Linked DNA regions of Homo sapiens: regions 1, 2, 4 and 5 are each linked to region 3. Evidence: promoter capture Hi-C in 16 types of primary human blood cells and fetal thymus (Javierre and others, 2016). All regions are on one chromosome and are shown on one strand. The core of a region is centred on a gene start or on the middle of the fragment in contact, and the rest is flanking DNA. Distances in the headings are between cores, read along the strand shown.

What was found. Contacts are between HindIII fragments. The CHiCAGO score rates a contact against its expected background, and 5 or more counts as called.
Region 1: a fragment that was not itself captured here is called in contact with the fragment with the promoter of ERP27 in region 3 in 2 of 17 cell types (non-activated CD4 T cells and total CD8 T cells); the score reaches 6.0 in non-activated CD4 T cells.
Region 2: a contact is called between a fragment that was not itself captured here and the fragment with the promoter of ERP27 in region 3, in 1 of 17 cell types (neutrophils). The highest score is 5.4, in neutrophils.
Region 4: a fragment that was not itself captured here is called in contact with the fragment with the promoter of ERP27 in region 3 in 1 of 17 cell types (activated CD4 T cells); the score reaches 5.3 in activated CD4 T cells.
Region 5: a contact is called between a fragment that was not itself captured here and the fragment with the promoter of ERP27 in region 3, in 1 of 17 cell types (neutrophils). The highest score is 5.0, in neutrophils.

What each region holds. Positions count from the first base shown.
Region 1 is chr12:15,217,617-15,220,316 of GRCh38, reverse strand. The region is part of intron 1 of RERG (RAS like estrogen regulated growth inhibitor); the gene reads left to right. Among named protein-coding and RNA genes, the nearest start is that of RERG, 2.4 kb to the left of the region's middle. The HindIII fragment of the contact is 1,201 bases long and covers 824-2,024 here.
Region 2 is chr12:14,503,456-14,506,155 of GRCh38, reverse strand. PLBD1 (phospholipase B domain containing 1) reads left to right here. Exons shown (of 11, transcript NM_024829.6): 11 at 2,202-2,495. The coding sequence ends at 2,384. Among named protein-coding and RNA genes, the nearest start is that of PLBD1-AS2, 25 kb to the left of the region's middle. RefSeq lists an enhancer at 1-674. The HindIII fragment of the contact is 417 bases long and covers 1,219-1,635 here.
Region 3 is chr12:14,937,169-14,939,868 of GRCh38, reverse strand. ERP27 (endoplasmic reticulum protein 27) reads left to right here and starts at 1,332. Exons shown (of 7, transcript NM_152321.4): 1 at 1,332-1,454; 2 at 1,817-1,917. The coding sequence starts at 1,361. RefSeq lists an enhancer at 1,817-1,876. The HindIII fragment of the contact is 1,334 bases long and covers 227-1,560 here.
Region 4 is chr12:14,459,210-14,461,909 of GRCh38, reverse strand. It overlaps ATF7IP (activating transcription factor 7 interacting protein), which reads right to left. Exons shown (of 15, transcript NM_018179.5): 9 at 777-1,415. Among named protein-coding and RNA genes, the nearest start is that of PLBD1-AS2, 70 kb to the left of the region's middle. The HindIII fragment of the contact is 4,741 bases long and covers 1-2,700 here.
Region 5 is chr12:14,633,823-14,636,522 of GRCh38, reverse strand. All of the region lies in intron 19 of GUCY2C (guanylate cyclase 2C), which reads left to right. Among named protein-coding and RNA genes, the nearest start is that of GUCY2C-AS1, 30 kb to the left of the region's middle. The HindIII fragment of the contact is 2,774 bases long and covers 1-2,700 here.

The sequences.
Region 1 (2,700 bases), core at 175-2,674, 280 kb before region 3:
ATTTTACCTTTAGAGTGATAGCAGCTGAGATGTTTTTGTCCTAATAAGCACCATCCACATAAAAAGTGAATGGCAAATTTCAGCCCTACTCAGAATATTTCAGCAGAACATTAGGACAAATGGATTTTCTTAGATCCACGTATGGAAGCTCTCAGATTATGAATTATTTGGAACATCAGAAACTTGGCAACAGTTTACTTATTACAACAATTTACATATTTATTTTTGTTTTCTATCTTGTCAAATGTAACTTTTCACATTTTCATGTGAGAAATAAAATGTTGAAGAACTCCTGTCAGTTTTGTGTCTTCCTTTAAGTGATTTTTCTAAACATAAAATTAGGTTGACAATAACCAGCTGTATCTTTATTAGGTTATAAATGGAAAAAATAGCCCACACAATTTCTCTTTCTTATGTGAAATTCCTATGCCTCTGGGGCCATTTGGGAGTTACTAAAAAATGTGACTTGTCATTTTTTTAAAATCACATTTGATGGCTACTTTCATGAAACATTAATCAGACAGATAATTACTTGCATTTTATATCCATGTATATGAACAGTTTTGCATGAAACAAAATTATTGTTTATACTAGCTGCAGACACTTGCGTGTTCAATGTTTCAAAGAAATACTTGCCAGCACCTCTTCTCATTTATAATTTAAATAGTTAATATATCTCCACATATTATGTTTCTGTGATGAAGCCCTGAACCTTAAAAACATAGGGCCTTTTCTTAATGAATGCATCTAAAGTGACAAATAAGGAAATCTTTTTATCTTTAGCCAAAAATATGGGACTGGACAAATTGCAGATGTTTAAGCTTCTGGTTTTTGCTAATAATGATTACTTAGACACTTTGTCATTATTGAGGATGAAGTAAACAATAGCTAATGTTAATGTTGATTTTTCCTTCCTTCAGAGGAAGCTCTGGCACTTTGAAAATCAGCAAATACAAAACCTTATTAGGTACAGGATGATAGCTTAAATACCTAAGGAAGAAAACAATTACATGATAATGTCTTTGTAGAAATACTTTTTCAGGCGGATTTTCACTTTTTAATTTCTCTCTCAAGAAGCTCTTTGTAAAAATTTATAGATGGAAAAATCTGGCAGGAACATTTAACACATTTAGATAACATATTTGTGTTTAAAACATCTTTACTGCCTTGAAAATGGAATGAATTATGCAGACTGGTGTGATTAAGATTAACACGGGTAAAAGTGCTGTGCTGTATTTAGGTTTAAGCCATTGATTGCAAATGTTCGGAATGAGGGGGTCTGCAGTCCGTGTAAAAGATGTGAGGCTTAATGTGATTGGCTGTGCTACAGTATAACCATGGTGGGCAGATTAACGATAGTGAAAATCTCAGGGAATTTACACCGGGTCAGTTTGTCAGGTCATATCTCAAAGTGGAATGCAGTGGACACCATGCTTTTAGAGTGATTAAGATGTTGAGGAGGCAATGCACATGATGAAAAAGGGAGTGAAGGTCAAAAAAACATAAACGAGAGTGTACATTCCGGGAAGAACAAGTGGACAGGCTGGGCCTCATGTTCCTAGAAAAAAGAAGCCTAGGATGGAGCAAAGGGTCCTACTAGATGCTAGGATCCTTGAACGGTTCTGAGTGAAAGAAAAAGTTGACTTGTTTTGAGTTATTTCATAGAGAGAAATGAGGACAAATGAGTAGAAGCCGCAGGGAGACAGTTTAGAGCTCAATATTAGAAAGATAGTTCCTCCTAATTGGAGAAATGAAGCAGCTTTCAGAAGTAATGAGCCCACCTTTCATACCTGGAAGTGGTAAGTCAGGCATGGAATATGGAATGATTGTTATGTCCTAAGGAAAGATTCTTGCTAGAAGAATGGCTAGAAGATTTCTTCAGATGACCCCCACTCCAGCCCCCACCACCACCAAAGCTCTTTCCAAATTTACGTTTCCATGATCCTAAGAACCTAGATGTCACTCCTAAAGCACCAAACTAAATAAGATGTGCTTACTTTGTACATAATGTTATTTCCCAAGCTTTAAGACAGCACTATAAACAAATTTACTTGAAGTCATCATAGAAAAGGAATAACTTGGAGCATGGCATTTATCGTTTTTGTACCAGGGCATTGTGTCCAGCAAAATATAGAAATGTAATCTATGTATTATATATTGATTCCTAGAACATGTGTATCTGTATCTGTCACAGGAATTCATCATGTGATCAAGTGTGAATTGAGAAAAAATTTAACTTTGAGATGCAAAATTGAATTGTGTTGCATTGGAGTTGACTAATATGAATGTATGTTATTCAACCCAAAGAGACATGAAGAGGCCCAAAAGTGACTCTCTCCATTGCCCCACTGCATGTGTTTGTACACTGAATGCTTACAGATAGATGGTAAATGTGTGTATTCACTTTTACTTTCAGTTACTATCAAGAATCAATACCTTCATAAGAAAATTTCTTGAGGAAGTACTTTAGAAATGCTATTGTGTGTGATAATGCACGTTTTAGTACCAACCAGATCCAAATCCAAGTCCTGAATCTACCATTTATTAGTTAAATCATTTACAGTAAGTTACCATAGACTTCTCACAGGATAGTGGTAAAGATCAAACCAGAAAATGTTGAAAAAGTGAATGGTGGCTGGCATATAGTAGATGCTCAATAAATATTAATTCATTTTCCAGTCACTTATGAATTCCCAAATT
Region 2 (2,700 bases), core at 178-2,677, 430 kb after region 3:
TGCTATTGGCTTTTGAATTTAATTCCCACCAGCACACAGGCCTCTCCAAAGGCAAAGTTGCACAGGTTTTTATGGCAGGAAGCGATGTCGCTAACCATAAACTCAACCCAGGAATCAGCTTTTTCAGAGATTCTGGTGGTAGGTCCTATTATCTAACTTCAAGTCCCTGCTCTGCCATTTAGTAGTAAATCACATAATTCCGTCATGTTTCTGTTTCCTCATCTGTAAAATGGATATAACAGTACTTACCTCATATGTTGTTCTGAAGAATAAGGCTTTAATCTCTGTAAAATGTTTACAACAGCACTTAGTGAGTTATTTGTAAATGTATACAACCATAATGATGTTATTGTTGTCTTATGTTTTACCAGACTGGCCCAAAGTCCAAAGAACATATTATTCAAGCAGTGCGATTCCATGTTAAACATGAGTCAAATTTAGCTGAAGGAGCAAGTTTGGACAAGATGCCTAAAGCACAGCAGTTTTTCACAATGTTAGAATTGATAAGTGCTGTAATGTATCTGAAAATATAAGTAATAAGTAGGTTTGCAGTGGTGTGCTAAAGCCAGCTTATAGACATGCAGGAACCAATTGTTAGTTGACGTGTTGATGGCTTCAAACCAGTCAGTGAAAGTATTTACATTATGGAAATCAGGAACTTTTTTCCTCACAAAGAAAGATTGTTGTTAAAAATTTACCTGCTCACCACTGGATTTGGGACGTCTGAGGGTATGAGGCATTTGGTTGGTGGAATCATGCTACTACATCCTTTTGCACTCTTGGCTTGGGTGTGTGTCTTTTCATTTCATCAGCTGTCCTAAATTCTGGAAGAAACCTGTCAGGGTAAAGTGTGTATTCTGTCTTTGGCTCAAAAAATTATAGGAATGCTGACCCCAGTTGCACATGATTCTCTATCAGCCTAATACCTAAACAGGAAATGCTTTAAAGTATCCTAAGTTCCAGCTCAACCTTCTTTTTAGCTATGTGATGAAGGCAAAGCTTTAGCCGTAATGACTCTCAATGTTAACATTAAAAAAAAAAAAAAAAAAGGTAGACGTAGAGAAGCTGGCACAGATGAAACCCCAATGAATGTTTTTGTATTCCTTTTTTAAAATGGCATTTGCAAACATTCAGTCAATGTGTGAAGTTTGTATCTATCACAGAATACACAAAGAAAATCACCTCTGCTGCCTTGCCTGGGAGAACTCAAGCCAAGCTTCCCTCTACCAAATCTCACTTCTGGAGACAGAGGCCTGCAATTGTTCTTATCAGAAAGTTTCTGTTGAAGGATATTCTTTAAAAATGTAATTTATCTCTTTAGAGTCATTTTGAATATGGGGAAAAGAAGAAGAGATTCTCTTTCCCCTCTAAGATTAAGACCCACTGCTAGCCAGTTGTTAGGTGTTTTTGAGAACCACGGCCCTCAATTTTTGACAGTGAGCTCTATCTACTTTCAGACTCTTGTTACCACCCTGATTAATAACAACTTTTTCTAAGAACTTCATCTATTCTAGGCATTACTTTGAGCATTGCTTGCATTAATCCTCATGCCAACTCTATGAAGTAGGGTTATCAGCCCATTTTACAAAGGAGAACACTGATTCATAGAGGGGTTAAGTGATTTTTAAATAAGCTTTGGAGCTAGAATTCTGAATATGAGTAATCTGACTTCATATCTCACTTTTGGCTACATTGTTCATTTCACACACTTCTAGTCAACTGACATTTAAGCCAAATGTATACAGAAGACTGTATCATATAAAGACAATGTGAAAAATGGCAAGAAAATTTTGTTTTAAAGAAGGCGGCCTGGCGCGGTGGCTCATGCCTGTAATCCCAGCACTTTGGGAGGCTGAGGCGGGCGGATCACCTGAGATCAGGAGTTCGAGACCAGTTTGGCCAACAAGGCAAAACCCCATCTCTACTAAAAATATAAAAATTACCTGGGTGTGGTGGCCCATCCACGTAATCCTAGCTACTTGGGAGGCTGAGGCAGGAGAATTGCTTGAACCTGGGAGGCAGAGGTTGCAATGAGCTGAGATTGTGCCACTGTACTCCAGTCTGGGCAACAAGAGCGAAACTCCGACTCAAAAAAAAAGCTAATATTGTGACTTTGGTAGTGGGAGAGTGGGGAAGGCCATGGATTTAATTTTTTGCTGAACGATGATTTTCTAAAATGTCCTCCTCCTCCCTCTTTCCAGGTGGCAGATATCTACCTAGCATCTCAGTACACATCCTATGCCATAAGTGGTCCCACAGTACAAGGTGGCCTCCCTGTTTTTCGCTGGGACCGTTTCAACAAAACTCTACATCAGGGCATGCCAGAGGTCTACAACTTTGATTTTATTACCATGAAACCAATTTTGAAACTTGATATAAAATGAAGGAGGGAGATGACGGACTAGAAGACTGTAAATAAGATACCAAAGGCACTATTTTAGCTATGTTTTTCCCATCAGAATTATGCAATAAAATATATTAATTTGTCACTTTCATTTCCCACTGACTTTGTTGTTTTTACAGTAAGCACTCACTATAAGGTAGAGCACTGTAGAAGAAATGTTACATATATATATAAATAACACTAAGCTTCGGCATACATGCTAATACACAAGAGGGTATGGAAGAAACAGCTCCTTCATTCACCAGAATTCATGTTCTCCTTTCACGCCTGCTCACACAGACCACATCTCCCAGTGT
Region 3 (2,700 bases), core at 83-2,582:
TATTTTTTTCCTGATACCTTACTGAAATCATTCATCAGTTCCAGTAGCCTTTTGGCAGAGTCTTCAGAGCTTTCTAGGCATACAATCATATTGTCAACAAGGAGAAATAGTTTGACTTTTTCTTTTCCTGTTTAGATGCCTTTTATGTCTTCCTCTTGCCTAATTGCCCTGGCTAGGGCTTCCTAATTTCTTTTGTAATATTTTCACATGAAAATTCTCCTAAGCTTAAAACTACATATCCCAATGCCTGTGGAAATCTCATCTTGGACTTCCTCAGACACTTGTGAGCAAAATCAAACTTCATCTCATTCTTCTGCTTAAGACTTTTCAGTGGTTCCCATCACCTACAGAATAAAATTGATGCTCCCGCGCTTAGTGTATCATATAAAGCCTGCTGTGAGCTGGTCCCAACATGCCTTTCTGTCCACATGTATCACTTCCTTCCTTTTCATCATTCTCAATTACTAGTAATTCTGTCACACATTATATTTGCATATCTGTGCTTTGGTTCTTTTTTTTTTTTTTTTTTTTTTTTGAGACGGAGTCTCGCTCTGTCGCCCAGGCTGGAGTGCAGTGGTGCTATTTCGGCTCACTGCAAGCTCTGCCTCCCGGGTTCAGGCCATCCTCCTGCCTCAGCCTCCCGAGTAGCTGGGACTACAGGCGCCCGCCACCACACCTGGCTAATTTTTTGTATTTTTAGTAGAGATGGGGTTTCACCATGTTAGCCAGGATGGTCTCAATCTCCTGACCTCGTGATCCACCTGCCTCAGCCTCCCAAAGTTCTGGGATTACAGGTATGAGCCACCACGCCCGGCCTGTGCTTTAGTTCTTTACATGAAACTCCCTTTCTACCTTGTGTTGCCTGGCAAAATCTTACTTACCCAGAACTCTGCTCCGGCATCCTCCGCAGGAAGAACACTTTCATTGAACCCTAGCATTGTCCCTAATACCCTTAATATGTATTGTCATAGCACCCTATGAATTTTTCTATATCACTTTCCATCTTATATTTAAATAATCTTTTTACTTGCCCATCTCTCCCACTGATAATCTAAGCTGGCAGAGGCTGGATCAGATCATAATTATCTTTCTATTCTTAGCGCTAGGATCAATGCCTGGCATAGCATATTTACATTTTTTATTTAAATAAACTGACCTGACTTTCTTCTGGTTGGATATGTTCTGAGTCCCTATTACTAACCTTGGTCTTTTATCTCAGAAGTTGAAGGCTCCCCTGGAGCCAGCTGCAAAGTTCCCAAAGCCCTAACAACCCCACAGCCAATCAGCTACAGAGTAGGCTGCCCTGAGTCGGCCTCCCCAACACAAAGTCCAGGGTTGGAGCAGGAGCAGGAGAGGGACAATGGAAGCTGCCCCGTCCAGGTTCATGTTCCTCTTATTTCTCCTCACGTGTGAGCTGGCTGCAGAAGTTGCTGCAGAAGTTGAGAAATCCTCAGGTAAAAGAAAAATGTAGTTGGGTGGCTATAGTGTGAAAGTGTTATTAGGAGAAGGAAAGGGAGCATGGTGGTTCTCTGGGTACTTTTCCTCCACACCTAGAAAGCTTTCCAGGAAATCCTGGATAAGTGCATTTTGCCTGGTAGAGAGTAGGGAAGTCTGGCAGTATCCTTCAGAGACAGACCATCAGTAGGGTCACCTTCCATATGTTAGTAAAAATATTATGCCTTGGAATGCCAACAGTACTCCTATAAATTGTGCTCTTCTTGCCCTTAGTATAGAGATAAAAGGTATAGATGCCCTCATTATTTAGAGCTGCTTCTTCTTGCCTCAGTACCCTGACATCTTCTGCTTCTCTCTCTAGATGGTCCTGGTGCTGCCCAGGAACCCACGTGGCTCACAGATGTCCCAGCTGCCATGGAATTCATTGCTGCCACTGAGGTGGCTGTCATAGGCTTCTTCCAGGTTAGTTCCCTACTTGCAATTCCCCCAAGAGCCAGAAATGTTCTACCTTAAGGGAACCACAGCAGCCACCTGCTGCTGGCAGATGGCACTGCATTAGAAGTGGGGGTAAAGGGAGACAGCCACCCAGTTTGATTTCATCTTGTCCATTGGGACCTCTTATTTTCAAGACATTCCCAGTCTCTAAATTATATCTTTCTCATACTTACTTCAAGAGTTCTGAGCCTGTGGGCTGCATCTCCTCATCTATGGATGCTTTGAAGCTCAAGTCAGTATCTGCAGAAAGAATGCCTTCATGGAACCCCACCATTGTCCTAAACACATTTGGTCTATACTCTCATAGCACCCTATGAATAGGCAGGGGCCAGAGTGAACCCAATTTATATCATCCAGCAACACTGTTTACAGGATGCCAAACATCCTGGACATTAGTCAGTGCACAGCCTTTTAAAGCCTTTCCCCCAAATATGGTAGACTCTCCTTCTTTCTCTTTGCCTTGTCTGAAATGTTGGAAAATGATGGCATTTTGTATATTCAAGGTGTTAACCTCCATCTTCCAGATTAGCTTCTTGACTAAGAAAGGCAGCCATAAATGAGACTGCCTCATTCCAGCATTTTCATCTTTCTCTGGTGGTAGCATCTGGAAATCCTCACAGCTGATCAAGCCCCTACTCTCTCATAGCAGACCTTCTTGTCTGTTTCCATTTCTCAGTTACAACTCCTGATTACCCTGTCAGTTCTGCGTACACAGTTGGAAATCACTGCAATGAGATGCAAGTCAGGGAG
Region 4 (2,700 bases), core at 91-2,590, 480 kb after region 3:
ACATCAATAAGAAAAATACTGTAGCAATTTTACTAGACACATGATGCCTACCCTTGCATGACTTTCCAAAAGTAGTGCACATAAATGTGAAGTCAGAAATGAAGAATAAGCAAGTTCAAGAATGCATACAAAACAAACTCTTTCTAGGAACTAGGAAGACACAGAGTTTGGCAGATTTTAAACAGGTATAATCAAGTGCTCCTTTTTGCAATATTTCTAAGTAAAATACAAACAATCATATAATATGTCATATGGGAAAACACGGAAAAGATAAAACAAGAAGGACTCAAACATTTTATAGCAAATGTGAAAGAAAAACTTATTTTTAAGTTGTTCAAATTTGGAAGCTATGAGTGAGTGCACAAAGGATTTTCCAAATGGGTAAGGAACATAAACGTGTCTTTTTTTCTTAAAAGCATATATTATGTAAATTTGATACTTTAAAATGTTTTAAACGATATTGCTGGCAAATGTATCATAAAAGTAACTCATAATGCTTGCCACAAAGCCATAAATTAAAAATTCACCAAACTTAGGAAAATTACTAAAAGATAAAACACAGATACTAACTTCTAATTCAAAATAAAACCCCTCTCAAGCCCCATTTTAGCAACATCATTTCTCTCAGGTATCTAAAAAATTACTAAAAATAATCAAGAAAATTCTATTTATTTTGTACTTCCAATAACGCTAGCCACTTAGAAAAAAAAAGTTCAATCATTACAAGGCTATTAAGATGCTTGCATTTCTAGTATTAAACCTACATGGTGACTTACCAATTCTTGGGGTGGTATTGCTGTTCTGTTCTGCAGCAGACGAAGTACTAAATGCAGAAATTGGAATTTTCATCTGTATAGGACCTCGATTAGTTGATGGACTATAGAGTCCTGATGGGCCCACTGTGGGTAAAGAAGTCCTTGTGGCTTGTACAATAGAGTGTGCTGTTGGAACAGCCTGCACAGCAAGTGTTGTTCCCAATGGTGCAGCACTGGCAGTAGGGTTCCTTTGAATACTAGGACTGGGCACAGAAGGAACGTTGTTTGGTTTAGTGGGATTTGGCAAGGATGGCAAGGATACTGGATTTTTGGTAAGACCACTCACTGTAGGTGGGCTTTGCACAGAAATGAATTCAACATTGCCAGATGGTTGATTAGTCACCAAAGTCCCTGGATGGCTCTGTAGAAGCTGAGGCTGGGAGGATACTGCAACAGGTACATGCAAAATCACTGGCAAAGGCTGTAAAGAGATTGTAGGCTGGGGATTTCCACTAGGCACCTGAGTAGTAGCAACTACAGTAGCTGTATTGGGTGCAGGAAGAACTGACGTTGCTGTGAGGGAACCCGAAGTCACTGGAGTCTGCAATTTAGGTTGACTACTGACAACTGCTGGAGGAGTGACAAGATTGGTTGAAGATACTATAGAAAGAAAACAGAAGCCTCAGTTTAAATGGTTATATTAATTTATCAACTAAGAAAATATGACAGACACAAATTAAATACATTGCGTAATACATTGCAAAGACTGTAAAGTCTTTTATCATGAAATTTTTTTCCAGATTTAAATTCCAAAATTTAATTTAGAATTAAATTCATAGAAGCATTTTGCATGTAGTTTTAGTAAATTACAAAAACAGCACATGATCGATGATTAATATGCAAGACTACTGAGGATCAAAACGGTCTCTGAAAATTACTATAATCACTTTAGAGTACCTAACTAGTAAACAAATAAAAAATACTAAAAAGTTAAGTAAAAATATATATTTTTGAAACTACATTAAAAACATTATAAATGCCTTACAACACAAGTAATATATAAACTCAAATAGTAAATCTAAAAAGAGTCATGACCATTAATGAATAACAGGTAGGCTTACTCATCGTATTTTATTATTTGAACCATGTCTGTATCTTTGGATCAAGTTTGATTGAATTCCTTGGGAGAGGAACTATTGAGGGGAGATTCCCTCTACTGACACCCTACTGACATTGTATGATATGGAAAACAGCACTGAGCGAAGATGACAGATGAATTAAGAAGAAATGAGGTAGCATATACAGAAGAACAGAGAAAATACAAATGCTGGTCACTAGTTTTATAATAATTTTCAACTACTTGTGTTTATTCTCATTGCAACAGGTTTAAAATACATGACCAAACTTCTTTCTCATTGATTTATAGTCTTTCCAAAAATAACAGGTTCACTAGAGCAGCAGTTTCTCAAAGTGTGGTCCAGCGGGGTGCCTGGGGTTTTCTGAGACCCTTTCAGGGAGTTTGCAATGTCAAAACTATTTTCATAACAATGAGACATTATTTGACTGTTTAAATAAGCAGACATTAGCACCAATGGAGCAAAAGCAATGCTAAGTAAAACTTCTGATGCTTTAGTACAAAAATCAAGGTAGTATAATGGGACCAAACATCGCTGCATTCTTCATCACATGCTTACAGTAAAAAACAAAGTCAGTTTTACTTAAGAATCCCCATGATACAGCGGTAAAAACTATTAACTTTATTATATCTCAACCTTTGAATAGGGGTTCTTTTCTTAATATTCCATGTGAAGAAATAGGCAGTACATATAAGACAACTACTGCGTGCCAAAGTAGGATAGTTAAGGAAAAATGCTTGTGCAATTGAGCTGTAAACTCAACTAGCAGTCTTTCCCATGAAACACTATTTTTACTTGAATGAATGACC
Region 5 (2,700 bases), core at 105-2,604, 300 kb after region 3:
GGTTTGTAGTATATGGCTTTTATTATTTTGTGGGTGTGTGATATATGGCTGGCCTTTATTATGTTGAGATATATTCCTTCTATGGCTAGTTTTTTGAGAGTTTTTATCAAGAAGAGATGTTGAATATTATCAAATGCTTTTTCTGCATCGATTGAGATGATCATATGGCTTTTGTTCTTCATTCTGTTGACGTAATGTATCATGTTTATTGATTTGCATATGTTAAATCATCCTTGCTTCCTGGGGATAAATCCCACTTGATCATGGCGTATTATCTTTTTGATGTACTGTTAGATTCAGTTTGCTAGTATTTTTTTTCTTGGAGGATTTTTGCATCTATGTTCCTCAGGGATATTGACCCATAGTTTTCCTTTTTTGTTGTATCCTTGTCTGGTTTTGGTATGAGGGTACTGCTGGCCTTGTAGAATGAAGGAGAATTCCCTATTCAATTTTTTTGAATAGTTTGAAGAGAATTAGTGTTAGTTCTTCTTTGGAAGTTTGGCATAATTCAGCAGTAAAGTCATCCAGTTCTGGACTTTTCTTTGTTGGGAGACTAGTGATTCAGTCTCATTACTCATTGTTGGTCTGTTCATGTATTCTATGGTATTCTATTTTTTTCTGATTCAATCTATGTAGATTGCATTTATCCAGGAATTTCTCCACTTCCTCTATATTTTTCAGTTTGCTGGTATATAGTTGTTCATAATAGTCTCTGATAATCTTTCACATTTTTGTGCAATTGGTTTTTATGTCTTTTTCTAATTTCTGATTTTGTTTATTTGGATCTTCTCTCATTTTTTTCTTGGTTAGTCTAGCTAATGGTTTATTGACTTTGTTTACCTTTTCATAAAAACAACTTTTTATTTCAATGATCCTTTGTATTATTTTTTCAACCTCTATTTTGTCTAGTTCTACTCTGACCTTTATTATTTCTTTCCCTCTACGAACTTTGGGTTTGGTTTATTCTTGCTTTTCTAATTCCTTGAGGTGCCTTGTTAGATTTGAATTTTTTCTGATTTTTTGATGCAGGCATTTATTCCTATAAACTACTCTCTTAGCAGTACTTTCGCTGTATCCCATAAGTTGTGGTATGCTGTGTTTAAATTTTCATTTGTTTTAATTTTTTATAATTTCTCCTAATTTCTTTATCGACTCAATGGTTATTCAGAAGCATGTTGTTTAGTTTTTATGTATTTGTGTAGTTTCCAAAGTTCCTCCTGGTATTGAGTTCTACTTTTATTCCATTGTGGCCTGAGAAGATATTTGATATAATTCTGGTTCTTTATAAATATGTTGAGACTGGTTTTGTGTCGTAACATATGGTCTATCCTGGAGAATGTTCCATGTGCTGATCACAGGAATGTTTATTCTTTAGCTATTGAATGAAATGTTCTGTAAATGTTAGGTTCACTTGTTCTAACGTGCAGTTTAAATCCAATGTTTCTTGGTTAATTTTCTGTCTTTATGATCTGTTTAATGCTGAGAGTGGAGTGTTGAAGTCCCCAACTATTATTAGATTGGAATCTACTTCTTCCTTTAGATCTAATAGTATTTGCTTTAAATGTCTGTATGCTTCAATGTTGGGTGTGTATATGTTTAGAATTGTTATATCCTCTTGCTGAATTGAGTCCTTTATCATTATATAATGACCTATGACCTTTGTCTCTTTTTACAGTTTTTTACTTAAAGTCTGTTTTACCTAATATAAGTATAGCTACTCTTGCTTGCTTTTGGTTTTCATTTGCATGGAATATCTTTCCATCCCTTTACTTTCAGTCTACATATTTCTTTACAGATAAGATGAGTTTCTTGTAGGCAGCCTACAGTTGGGTCATTTTTAAAAATCCATTGAACCAGTCTATATCTTTTAAGTGAAAAATTTTGATCCATTTACATTCAAAGTTATTATTATGTAAGGGCTTATTCCTTTCATTTGATTAATTGATTTCTGGTTGTTTATACATCCTTTGTTCCTTTCTTTCCCTTGTTTTTCATTATGGTTTGTGGTTTTCTGCAGTGGTAACCTTTGAGACCCTTCTCTTCCCTCTTTGTGTGATTGCTTTACTAGTGGGTTTCATACTTTCATGTGTTTTCATGGTGGTAGATGACATCCTTTCACTTCCAGGCGTAGGACGCCCTGAAGCATTTCTTGTAGGGGAGGTCTAGGGGTGATGAATTTCCCTAGCATTCACTTGCCTGGGACAGCCTTTATTTCTTCTTCATTTATGAAAGATAAGTTTGCTGGATATAGTATCCTTAACTGGAATTTGGTTTTTCTTTCAGCACTTTGACTACCTCATCCCTTTTCTCCTGGCCTGTAATGTTTCTGCTGAGAAATTCACTGTTAATCTGATGGGGGTTTCCTTATAAGTAACCAGATGCTTTTTTCTTGCTATTTTTAGAATTTTCTCTTTAACTTTTGACAATTTGACTATAATGTGCCACGGAGAAGATCTTTTTTAATTATATGTATTTGGGGATCTCTGAGTTTCCTGTATCTGAATGTCTAAATCTCTTGCTATTATTTTGTTAAATGGGTTTTGTATTCCTTTTGTTTTCTCTTCGCCTTTTGGGACACCAAAAATTTTAAGTATTTAGCCACTTTATGGTGTCTATATCATGTAGGCTTTGCTCATTCATTTTTGTTCTTTTTTCTTTATTTTTGTCTTATTGGATTATTTCAAAAGACCTGTCTTCAAG